Linked DNA regions of Homo sapiens: regions 1 and 2 are each linked to region 3. Evidence: promoter capture Hi-C in human tissues and cell types (Jung and others, 2019). All regions are on one chromosome and are shown on one strand. Each heading gives the region's core, a stretch centred on a gene start or on the middle of the fragment in contact. The rest is flanking DNA. Distances are from core to core; before and after follow the strand shown. Region 1 overlaps CYP3A5 (cytochrome P450 family 3 subfamily A member 5). Region 2 overlaps CYP3A43 (cytochrome P450 family 3 subfamily A member 43). Region 3 holds the start of CYP3A7 (cytochrome P450 family 3 subfamily A member 7).

The links. Contacts are between HindIII fragments. The study calls those that stand out against the background at their distance.
Region 1: a fragment that was not itself captured here is called in contact with the fragment with the promoter of CYP3A7 in region 3 in 2 of the 25 tissues and cell types used here (mesendoderm cells and ovary).
Region 2: a fragment that was not itself captured here is called in contact with the fragment with the promoter of CYP3A7 in region 3 in 2 of the 25 tissues and cell types used here (dorsolateral prefrontal cortex and pancreas).

Annotation. Positions count from the first base shown.
Region 1 is chr7:99,644,823-99,648,818 of GRCh38, forward strand. CYP3A5 (cytochrome P450 family 3 subfamily A member 5) reads right to left here. Exons shown (of 13, transcript NM_000777.5): 13 at 3,372-3,578. The coding sequence ends at 3,483. It also overlaps a transcript of ZSCAN25 not described here. Among named protein-coding and RNA genes, the nearest start is that of ZSCAN25, 30 kb to the left of the region's middle. The HindIII fragment of the contact is 7,540 bases long and covers 1-3,996 here.
Region 2 is chr7:99,861,040-99,864,563 of GRCh38, forward strand. It overlaps CYP3A43 (cytochrome P450 family 3 subfamily A member 43), which reads left to right. Exons shown (of 13, transcript NM_057095.3): 11 at 574-800; 12 at 2,498-2,660. Among named protein-coding and RNA genes, the nearest start is that of OR2AE1, 14 kb to the right of the region's middle. The HindIII fragment of the contact is 4,373 bases long and covers 1-3,524 here.
Region 3 is chr7:99,733,563-99,737,507 of GRCh38, forward strand. CYP3A7 (cytochrome P450 family 3 subfamily A member 7) reads right to left here and starts at 1,634. Exons shown (of 13, transcript NM_000765.5): 1 at 1,461-1,634. The coding sequence starts at 1,531. It overlaps CYP3A7-CYP3A51P (CYP3A7-CYP3A51P readthrough), which reads right to left and starts at 1,634. Exons shown (of 15, transcript NM_001256497.3): 1 at 1,461-1,634. The coding sequence starts at 1,531. It also overlaps a transcript of ZSCAN25 not described here. RefSeq lists promoters at 1,531-3,945, 1,531-1,773 and enhancers at 1,779-1,809, 2,794-3,945, 3,091-3,102. The HindIII fragment of the contact is 8,535 bases long and covers 1-3,945 here.

The sequences.
Region 1 (3,996 bases), core at 1,242-3,741, 88 kb before region 3:
AAAAAGAGAACACATAGTGGGACAGGTTGAGGTCAGCTCAGGAGGTCAGGAGGGTCAGACGTGAGACCTTCACTGCAGACACTCCTGATGCAAGTGCCTGGAGCCACAGAAGCCCACCCAGCAGGAGCAGGATGGCTTTGAGGAGGACGATCAAGCCTGGCCCCAGAGCTAGGTTCACTTCAGAATGTGGGGATGGTCTCACTCTGTTGCCAGGCTGGAGTGCAATGGCGCGATCTTGGCTCACTGCAACCTCCGCCTCCTGGGTTCAAGCGATTCTCGTGCCTCAGCCTCCCGAGTAGCTGAGATTACAGGTGAGTGCCACCACATGCAGCTAATTTTTGTATTTTTAGTAGAGATGGGGTTTCACCATGTTGGCCAGGATAGTCTCGATCTCCTGACCTCGTTATCTGCCCACCTCGGCTTCTGAAAGTGCTGGGATTACAGGCGTGAGCCACTATGCTCAGCTGATCTCGTTCCTTTTTATGGCTGCATAGTATCCCATGGTGTATATGTACCACATTTTCTTTATTCAGTCCGTAATTGATGGGTGTTTAGGTTAATTTCATATCTTTGCTATTGTGAGTAGTACTGCAGTGAACATATGTGTGCATGTGTCTTTATGATTTATATTCCTCTGGATATATACCCAGTAATGGGATTGCTGGGCCAAATGGTATTTCTGTCTTTAGATCTTTGAGGAATTGCCACACTATTTTCCATAATGGTTGAACTAATTCACACTCCCACCGACAGTGTATAAGTGTTTATTTTTCTCCACAACCTTGCCACACCTGTTATTTTTTGACTCTTTATTAATAGCCATTCTGACTGGTGTTAGATGGTATCTTATTGTGGTTTTGATTTGCACTTCTCTAGTAATCAGTGATGTTAAGCTTTTTTTTTATATGATTGTCGTCCACATGTATGTCTTCTTTTGAAAAATGTCTGTTCATGTCCATTGCCCATTTTTTAATTTTTTTTTCTTGTACATTTAAGTTCTTTATAGATGTTGGCTATTAGACCTTTGTTGGATGTATAGTTTGCATTTCTTTTCCCCAGTCTGTGTTCTTGGCACCTTTGTCAAAAATGAGTTCACTGTAGATGTGTAGATTTGTTACTGGGGTCTCTATTCTGTTCCATTGGTCTATGTGTCTGTTTTTATACCAGTACCAGGCTGTTTTGGTTACTATAGCTCTGTAGTATACTTTGAAGTCAGGTAAATGTGTTTCCTCCAGTTTTGTTCTTTTTGCTGATGTTAGCTTTGGCTCTTCTTGGTCTTTTGTGAATCCATACAAATTTTAGGATTAAAAAAATATTTCTGTGAAGAATGTCATTGGTATTTTGATAGGGATTGCATTGAATCCATATATTGCTTTGGGTATTGTGGGCATTTTTAACAATATTGATTCTTGAAATATATAAACATGGAATATCTTTCTATGTTTTTGTGTCCTCTTCAATTTCTTTCATCGGTGTTTTATAGTTTTCATTGTAGAGATCTTTCACTTCTTTGATTAAGTTAATTCCTAGGTATTTAATTTTATTTGTGGCTATTGATTTTATTTCAGATTGTTCCTTGCTGGCATATAGAAGTGCTACCAATTTTGTACGTTGATTTTGTATCCTGCAAATTTACTGAATTTGTTTATCAGTTCTAATAGTTCTTTGGTGGAGTCTTTAGGTTTTTAAAATATCATTTGGAAGTCATATGGAAATATCATTTAGAAATCATTTCCAAATACCATTTAGAAACCATTTGAGTGTTTTCTTACTTCCTGGCACAAAAAGTGTCCTGGGCTCATCTTGAACATTTTTAGTCCTAGCCCTGGCATCAGCTATTTCTCTAACGAGCTCTGGTTCCCTTCAGTGGAAAATGATATTCATAAGCCAAGATCTAGGCACTAAGTATACTCATTGCTATTGAAATGTCATTGTTATCTAGCCCTATCAGTGAAGTAGGGAATATATGTTTTATACACACACACACACACACACACACACACACACACACACACATGCATGCTCACACATACAAACACATATATTTACATCTAATTATCTATCAACTATCTATTATCTATCTATCATCTGTCTATCTATCCATCTATCTATCTAGAAAAGTATGAATGTACACTGATACATCCATTCCAATCTAACACCATAGGATTAATGCTAGCTTTCTCCCTTTCTGAATCTATGACTCTTTTCTGCAAAAGTGACACACCTAGCTTCCAGTATACTTTATTTACTTATGTGATCAATCCCTTCTATGTAGCCAACTCTCACCCATCCCTTCCCACTCAGGGATACCCTCCTCACCTCACGTGGGTTCTCCAGGCCCTATTTAGGCTCTGGCTGCTCTTGAAGGCCACACCTCTGTGTGGACCCCTTCTCTGATTGCTTGGGCTCCCGCTTCCAGGTCAGGCTGCCCCTCCATGTGGATGCCTTCCCCAGCACACTTGGAATCTGACTTGGAGCCACCATGACTCTCTTGTCCACCTTAATGTGTGGCTACCACATGGCTGCAACCCACCTAATGGCTTTAGTATTCAGAAAAGGAGGGAAAATGAAAGAATAAAAAAGGAAAATGAATAGTGCTTTTAGACATGCTGCCCAATCAACTGACGAATTGACAATTTTTTATTCAGTGTTCATTGCATTAAGACAATTGGGAGGTGAAGATGGAATGCAAGACGTATAAGAAAACATGTTTCCTGTGTTCCAGAAATGTCAGGGGAGATGTGGTAAAAATAATAAATCATAACTAATAATATGATAAGTGCTTCGTTGAGTGTTACAAAAAATATGTTCTTCAAAGAAGGCAGAATGAAACTATGAATATTTTCTCCAAACAATGGGCAAAGTCACAGCAGATTAACTCTCACCTATGTTAATAATCAAATTGGAATTCTGACAAAGGCCCCACACCAACAGTGATTACAATGATAAAAAATGTTTATTTGCTGGTTTTCAGTCATTCAGTTCTATAGATTTCTCTTTAGTGTGCAGGATGGCATCAGATAATATTTTTGTAAAGGGGATTTTATCACTTCGCTTAATATAAAACTTATAGAATATTACAAATAAAACGTGATATAAATGTCACTATTAGAGTCATCATGATAATTCTTATTTTTCTTAAAAGTTATGGATCAAATTGTTGAGAAATATTTATTCTCTGATGAGAGCTCAGGAGGAGTTGATAATGCTAACTAGAGGTGGGTAGAGGTAGTCCTATGAGAAGCAGAGAAGCTGAGTCTACCTATCTGTCACTTACCTGGTCACCTCCTTTATACTACATAATGCACAACACTCTACACAGACTCTGGGAGAGCTCAATGAATGTACAAAATCACCAACTACTCATGCAGTACATTAGATTAAGCCCATCTTTATTTCAAGGTTTTATTGACTAAGTTGAAATCTCTGGTGTTCTGGGGCACAGCTTTCTTGAAGACCAAAGTAGAAATCCTTAGAATAACTCATTCTCCACTTAGGGTTCCATCTCTTGAATCCACCTTTAGAACAATGGGTTTTTCTGGTTGAAGAAGTCCTTGCGTGTCTAATTTCAAGGGGATCTACAATAGTTAAACAAGCATATGGAGAATTAATAAATGAAGTGAAAGAAGAAAAGATGGAAGCAAAGTAGAAAAAATATGACAAAAATGCTTTGCAAGCATATAAAAACGACTCTTAACACCATGTATCTTGAACTCTTCATACTTAATCTATAAGCTGGGTAAATACTGGATAGTAAAAGCACTCACCATCCATCGTTTAACAAAATATTTATGGAGCACTGACTCTGTGCCAGGCCTGAGACAAATTCTTGTGGACTCGTGTTTTTTTTTTTTTATTTAAATCTTAAGTTAAAAGGATGAGTTTTAAAAATTAAATCCAGATTAGTAGGTATTATGGCAAACTATTTTGGAAGTGCTATATAAAGTTAAATTTTTATAGGTTAAAACTTGCAAGGTAATCCTGAGTAGCTGTTGT
Region 2 (3,524 bases), core at 237-2,736, 130 kb after region 3:
ATTTTTATAGTTTTAGTAGACACAGGGTTTCACCATGTTGGCCAGGCTGGTCTCAAACTCCTGACCTCAAGTGATCCACCCACCTTGGCCTCCCAAAGTGTTGGGATTATAGGCATGAGCCACCATGCCTGGCCTAAACAGGACTTTTCCATTTTAAATGCTTGTATGAAATAGAGGATTTGCTTTTTACATTTTCTTTTTCCTTGGTACAGATGCATAGCCTCTCTTTGGAAAGGTGACACTGGCTTTGGCATATTTTAGGTGATTCAAATGGCCATCGTCTATTAGTCATGTTTGTTCTCCCAAGAAAGAAAAAACACGAAATGGTAATGTCAAGGATTTCAGTCTCTGTGTAAGTGATTGTGCCAAATTCATAACTCCTCCACACATCTCAATGGGCCATCGAGCACATCACTGGGTATGGAGAATTATTAAAATAATTTATAAATGCAACAATCTTTTACCAGAATGAATTATTCTCTGGAGCTCCTAACACTTCAATAGTACTGCATGGACTAAGTTGAAAGTTAATTCCCAATCTCAATTTATCCAAATCTGTTTCTTTCTTCCCAGGCACCTGTCACCTACGATGCCCTGGTACAGATGGAGTACCTTGACATGGTGGTGAATGAAACGCTCAGATTATTCCCAGTTGTTAGTAGAGTTACGAGAGTCTGCAAGAAAGATATTGAAATCAATGGAGTGTTCATTCCCAAAGGGTTAGCAGTGATGGTTCCAATCTATGCTCTTCACCATGACCCAAAGTACTGGACAGAGCCTGAGAAGTTCTGCCCTGAAAGGTACAAGGCCCCTGGGAAAGGAGCCTTCCCTCAACCAGCCTGATTCAAGTATATTCTGCCTCTCTCGATGCACATGGCAATCATTTGAATATGTGCCTTTTCATTTTGGAAGTTTTTTATTACAAAATGATAACTGTTAAACTTTACAAACCATAGATTAAGAAACACCTTATAACAACCCTCATTAACTATGTAATGCCTGTCTTGTAGGCATTTTTCTATGCATAGACATTTTTAAAAACTAGTATACTATCACATTTTATTTGAGTTTGAACTGCTGCTTACTTCATTTCAAAGTAAACCATTACCTATCTACTATCTTACGTTACTACATATTTCTATATGCATAAGCTATAATTCATTTCACCATAATGTTATTTTGAGTATATAAGCTTGTTATTCATTTCAGTTTTTCTTTGCTGTGCCCTTTAGCTCTCTGAATTTAGCACCACGTTTAGGACATGTTTCCACATTCCTTTTTCTTTCAACATTGCTTGCTGTTTTCCGTAATGTAACTGTGAAAGTGCAGGCTGAGATCCTGAGACATCCTCATCCCTGATGGTTTAAGCCACTTCATTGAGGACAGAGGGAAGCAGAGGTTCTCCTGGTCCTGTTTGTGTCTGCAGTCCTGTGCCGGCTCCCTTGTACTCTCAGTTGTTGATGACTCTTCCAAAGCAAAGTCACCTGCTTTCTAGACTTCTCAGAAGTTCTTCCTTGGAAGTGTTGGGCATGATATTCTGGGAATTCAGAGCCAAGGTCAAGCTTTGGGCACAATTTGCACTCTGGAAATAGTTGATATTTTCCCATTTTGGAAAGGAAAATTTGGAATGAACTTTGTAGGGCACTGGCTGGTGAGGCCTGGGATCTAGACTTTTATTGGCCCCTAACTATAAACTTCCCAATGGCAGGGACCTTGTCTTGTTAGGCATGCTGTCTCTACTGCTGGCACAGACTCTGTACATAATACTTGTTGGAAGAGCAAGTCAGAATTGACCAATTTCTCTGTTTTCTGGAGTAGAGGACTTCTGTGTTTCCTCCATCTTGGCACTTCCACCTCCTGTGGCTGCACCAACACAAAATCAGAGACCACTCATTGTACTTCTCTTTGCATCATTCAGTCACCAAACAGATAGTAAGTGGTTACCGTGTGTCAGGAACTGGGCCAGGCAGTGAGAAATCCATATACTAAAAAAAGTCTGTTGTGAAGAATGTTTGACATACACATAACTATATTCTATAGACACCAGGCTATAGAACAGTATTAATGCATCCCCCTGTGTTCATCACCTGTCTCAGTAGTCAATGCTGCATGTCAGCTTCCCTGTCCACACACCACCACAATCCTCTCTGTGACTACAATGTTATCTTGAAGAAATAACCTGTAAATATTTCAGAATTTTCTCTAAAATATAAGTAGTCTTTTAAAAACACATAACCACAAGGGCATTATCACTTTCCTCCATCAAAATTTTTTCACAATATAATCAAATATTGAGGAATCAAATTTGAATAAACATGGGTTTAACCTTCAAAAATTGTATAGCCGGCCAGGTGTGGTGGCTAACACCTGTAATCCCAACACTTTGGGAGGCCAAGGAGGTCCTCGCCTCCCAAAAGCCACCACACCCTGCATAACGTGTAGTTTTAATAGTTTTTATGTTTCATTAACTAGTTTTTATGTACTACTGTGAAAGTAGGTTCAGTAAGAAGAACAAGGACAGCATAGATCTTTACAGATACATACCTTTTGGAGCTGGACCCCGAAACTGCATTGGCATGAGGTTTGCTCTCACAAACATAAAACTTGCTGTCATTAGAGCACTGCAGAACTTCTCCTTCAAACCTTGTAAAGAGACTCAGGTCAGTAAACTTTCTTATAAATAATGTTTATTGGGAGTTTTTTAAACTGAGAAGTCTACATTTTTTAAAAATTATTGTTCATTTTTCAATAATTTGCTCTGTAGGACAAAGAATCTAATTGGAGCTATCCATAATGCTTAAAGATGAATCACTTCTGGAGTTCAAAATCTGTGGCTTTGTAAAGACAGAACTATAAAGATCATCTAATGTCAATATAGATTAGCATGGTATAATTATGTTCAGTCTCTGTGAACTTGAGCAAATTTTAAATTCAGTTTCATGTCAACTGTAAAGATGAGGAAGTCTTTTGCACAATCATGAAGTGCAATGATTACTTTGTCAGGACTTTCGAATGGTGCTCTCCTCCACTAGAACTCACTAGAACTTGCAGAAGCTTTCTCATGACAGTGTTTCTCAACCACTAGCTGTACATTGGAATCACTGGGGAGCTTCAAAAATTCATGATGCCTGGATCATCTCACAAATTCTAAACTAATTTGCCCAGAGTTGTGGCTTTAAAAGCTCTCCCATTGGTCCTCATGTGAAGCCAATGTTGGGAATCACTAATTTAAGGCATTTCTGCCAGATAGAAAAGATACTTACAGTCCAAGGCCATCCTGACCATTTGACCTTATCTTCCAGGAGCACTGCTTCGCTGCTTCATACAAGCTGTGCATCTTTTCAACCCAATAATAGCTCTATGAATGTTCTTCTTTTCCTTCTCATTATGTTCCTATCCCACAAGTCCTACATCAATTCCCCAAGCCACTCTAAGAAACCTTCCCCATCGAGTACAGGGCCAGTTATTCTTCTGCTTTGTTACTGTTTATTGCAGGCTGTTATCATCACCTAATCTTATACTTT
Region 3 (3,945 bases), core at 384-2,883:
GCCAGAATCTGTAGTGACAGCCCCACAACATGGCCAGCCACACACAGAGTGACACTGATGGTGCCCTTGTGTCCAGGCTTCAAGCAGATGAGATGCCAACATGTTTGTCCTTCAAGTGACCTCCACTAGGGGGCCAGGACCCATGAATATCTATTTGGAGTTCTACCCTGAGGGGTAAGGAATATTTTCTCACTTCATCTTGATCCTACCTGGATGCTTTTGCTATCATCACTGGCTCACAGTCTTGCTTACTTTCTAGCCCTGAGAGTTTAGGATAACCTGCTAAGCAGGTGTATTTGAAATGGGGGTATTAAAATAAACTCTTGGGAAAGTATTTTTAAAAAGACATATGCAGTCTTGTCCTAGAGATATATATTTGTACATTAGACTCATATTCCTGACATTATTCTGGAAAGGTGAGGTTATCTTATACACATTTATTGTCACAAATACTGAACTAATAGCCCTCTTTTATCACTCAGAAGGAACATGCTGGAAATAGTCTATCTCCAAAAAAATCTGGCTTTAAAAAGGATGAATTTAAGCCACACCAATTCATGTTAAATTGCCAGTAGATGGAAACTATGTTACCACAACTCACTGAATTGCTAACTTTTCTGTGAAAGAATTAAAACGAGGTTTGTATTTTCTGTTTCCATGTGACCATGATTCCTTACTCTTAATAACTGTGAAATTGAGTTAGAAGTAAAATGTGACAGGCGGGAAGCCTCCAGTACACACAGTAGGGAGTGACTCTTCTCTCCACCTGCTCTAGGATGCCAGGATCTCACTGGTGAGAAGATTCACCCTCTTCTCCTGCAACTTAAAGGGAAAAATGTAAAATCCAAATTCTGGTTTGGTAAGCTGGGTACAAACCATTGTCTATTAGATTATCCTCAATCAATGCTGTCCCTAAACCCTTCTTTCCACTAAAGATGAATGGGGGAGATGCTTATTTATTCCTTTATAGATCTGCAAAACATCCATCATAACCTCTATATGTTTGTAGCATCCAACACTTAAGCTACTTCTCCTTGAAAATCTTTTTTTTTCTTTTTTTTCTCTTTTTTTTTTTTTGAGATGGAATCTCACTCTGTTACCCAGGCTGGAGTGCAGTGGCATGATCTCAGTTCACTGCAACCTCCGCCTCCCAGGTTCAAGCAATTCTCCTGCCTCAGCCACCCAAGTAGCTGGGACTACAGTTATGCACTACCATGCCCAGCTAATTTTTGTAATTTTAGTAGAGATGGGGTTTCACCATATTAGCCAGGCTGGTCTTGAACTCCTGACCTCAGGCAGTCCACCTGCTCAGCATCCCAAAGTTCTGGGATGACAGGTGTGAGCCACCACGGCCAGCCTGAACATCCTTTTTGCTATTCAAAACAGATAAGGGAAAGAGAGGCCTGATTAGCACCCCAAGTCCAAGGAAACAGAGAAGAGGAGCCTGAACAGTTACTCACAGATAGAGGAGTATCAGGCTGACAGCCAGGAGAAGCCAGGTTTCCACGGCCAAGTTTGGGATGAGATCCATCACTACTTTCCTTCCTTATCTCTCTCCTCTGAGTCTTTTTTTCAGCAGCGTGCTGCTGTTTGCTGGGCTGTGTGTGTGGAGCTTTCCTGCCCTGCACAGCAGTGATTCAGTGAGGCTGTTGGATTGTTTATATGCTGGAGAAGGAGGCAGGGCTGGAGCTGCAGCCAGTAGCAGGGCCCCCGTGCTCTGCCTGCAGTCGGAAGAGGCTTCTCCACCTCGGCAGTTGGCAAATAATCACACACACACCACTCACTGACCTCCATTGAGTTAATATTCTATGTAGAATCATACACAACTCAATCAATGTTACTGGGGAGTCCAAGGGTTCTGGGTTCTTATCACAAACTCAAGTGGAGCCATTGGCATAAAATCTATTAACTCTCCTCTTGTCTCTATGGCTGTCCTCATTCCAGAATACTTGAAACTCATCCCAACAAGCCATGCCTACAGATCTTTACCTATGCCTGGAGTGTGCCTGTGCCCCCTAGAAGACTCCTACACATCCTTTCATACCCAGCCAGACAGAGCCTTCTCTTAGAGTCTTTCCTCACCAACCCCCTCACACAGAAGTAACCATTTCCTCCCCTGGGCACTTTCCATCCCCTTCATGCAGTTCTATTGTCTTCTTTCCTCTTTACCACCATTGTGTGTTTCCAGGCCTGTTTCCCTTAGCAGAGGTGAGCTCCTCAAGGGCATAGTCTGGTCTTACTCACTCTCATGGCTCTGGTCCCTATCAGGGTGCTGTACACACAGTGGGGACCAGAAAGGCTGGTGGAGTTGACTTGGCTGAGATTGCTGGGCCCCTGTGTGTCACTTCCTCTGACTTTCTGGTGACCACTCCATCTTCTTAGGTCATTAATACAGCCAGAGCTCTTGGCTGTGCCTCAGCTGCTGTCTCTGCACTTTCAGATTTGTCCTCTGTGATTCTGTTGGCAAGAGGACCCCTAAAAAAGAGACATGGCATGGATGAGATGGAGCTGATGGCTTAGTGGAATAGCATCAATTTGTGCTTCTTCCTCTGTAGCTTTCAAAAGTCCTGCCGTAGATAGAAAGTTAGACAGGTTCTTTGCCAAAGAGTGGCCCCTTCTCTCTGGAAATACTGCATGTCTGGAAACAGTAGGGGAGAAAGAAGAGAAGAGAACAGCTGCCCAGATGGCCAGGTTGACCCAAACCACCTCAGCCAGCAACAATGGGGCAGTGGTCACTGCAGGTCACACAGCATCAAGGACTCCAATGAGGTGGTCCCAGCCTCTTGAGGGTGGAATTGGAATTCAAAGCAAATGGCTTCCTTTTTGACAAGTGGAGGATTTTCTAATGGGAGGAGAGCAGGTGCCAGGAGCTGGTAGAGATGAGGCCTGTAATAACAGTTGCTGCCACCTGTGAGCCCTGTGACCCATTCCTGATGGGAGAGATCTCAGTGATGAGGGTGTGAAAATTATATCAGCTCATTATCATCACTCACACCCAAGTTCTGTGTCTGCTTGGCCTGAGAAATGGATTCCATGACAAACAAAATCTCAGAGTTGTTAAAACTCAGTAGAAACAGATGATGTTTAAGCTGTGCTTGTTCACTTCCTTCTCTCTTTATTCTTTCTCAGGTTCAGCACTCCTGCAGAAACTGATACTCACCCCAGAAAGACACCTTTTCCCATCCCTCTGGCCCCTAAGCCTCCAGGGCTGCTCGGCACCTGGCCTCAGCAGGTGAACATCATGCCAGATTCCTTGTCAGATTCAAGGCCAAGTGGGTGAATGTCATGTGCAGTGTTGTGCCAGGTATGTGCCGGGAGCCACATGTTCCTTGGGGACAGCCTAGTGAAGCAGGAGACAAATAAACATGCTTGGATGGAGGTATGCATGTGCTGTAACTCTGGAATCCCTGGAATAATGGAGCCCTACAGAGAGGTACCTAAGAAAAGAAGTGACAGCGTCAAAGCAACAAAGGACAGACACGGGTAGGTGGGTGACAATCCCCAGGAGAAGTAGGATAAAAGTCCAGGGAATTCTGGTACATTTCTGTCTCCTTTCAGTGGCTTCGCTGAGCACATTAAATAGGGCCATGCTACTATCCCCAGTTTACAGATGTAGAAACTGAGGCTCAGTGACTGCAAGTAGCTTCCCAACTGATACTGATCACAATAAAATATTATAAAAAGTTAACAGGAAGGGAGATATTAGGTCCTCTGCTGCTCTGGTGCACCTGCCATTCCTTGCTAAGCATCACTATGGCAAATAGTAAGACTCAAGGCTGCAACCAGAAATTGGTTGAGATTCGTGTTCCTGTCTCAAGGGTTACTCCCAGTGGCACCCCCTGGGTTTTCTAGAACAAAGGACTCCATCTCAGCAGGGAGAAAGAAAGATGCAGTTTCTGACCATATCAATGGCATTGCTGGAGGATCTCCCTCTCTATGTTGCCA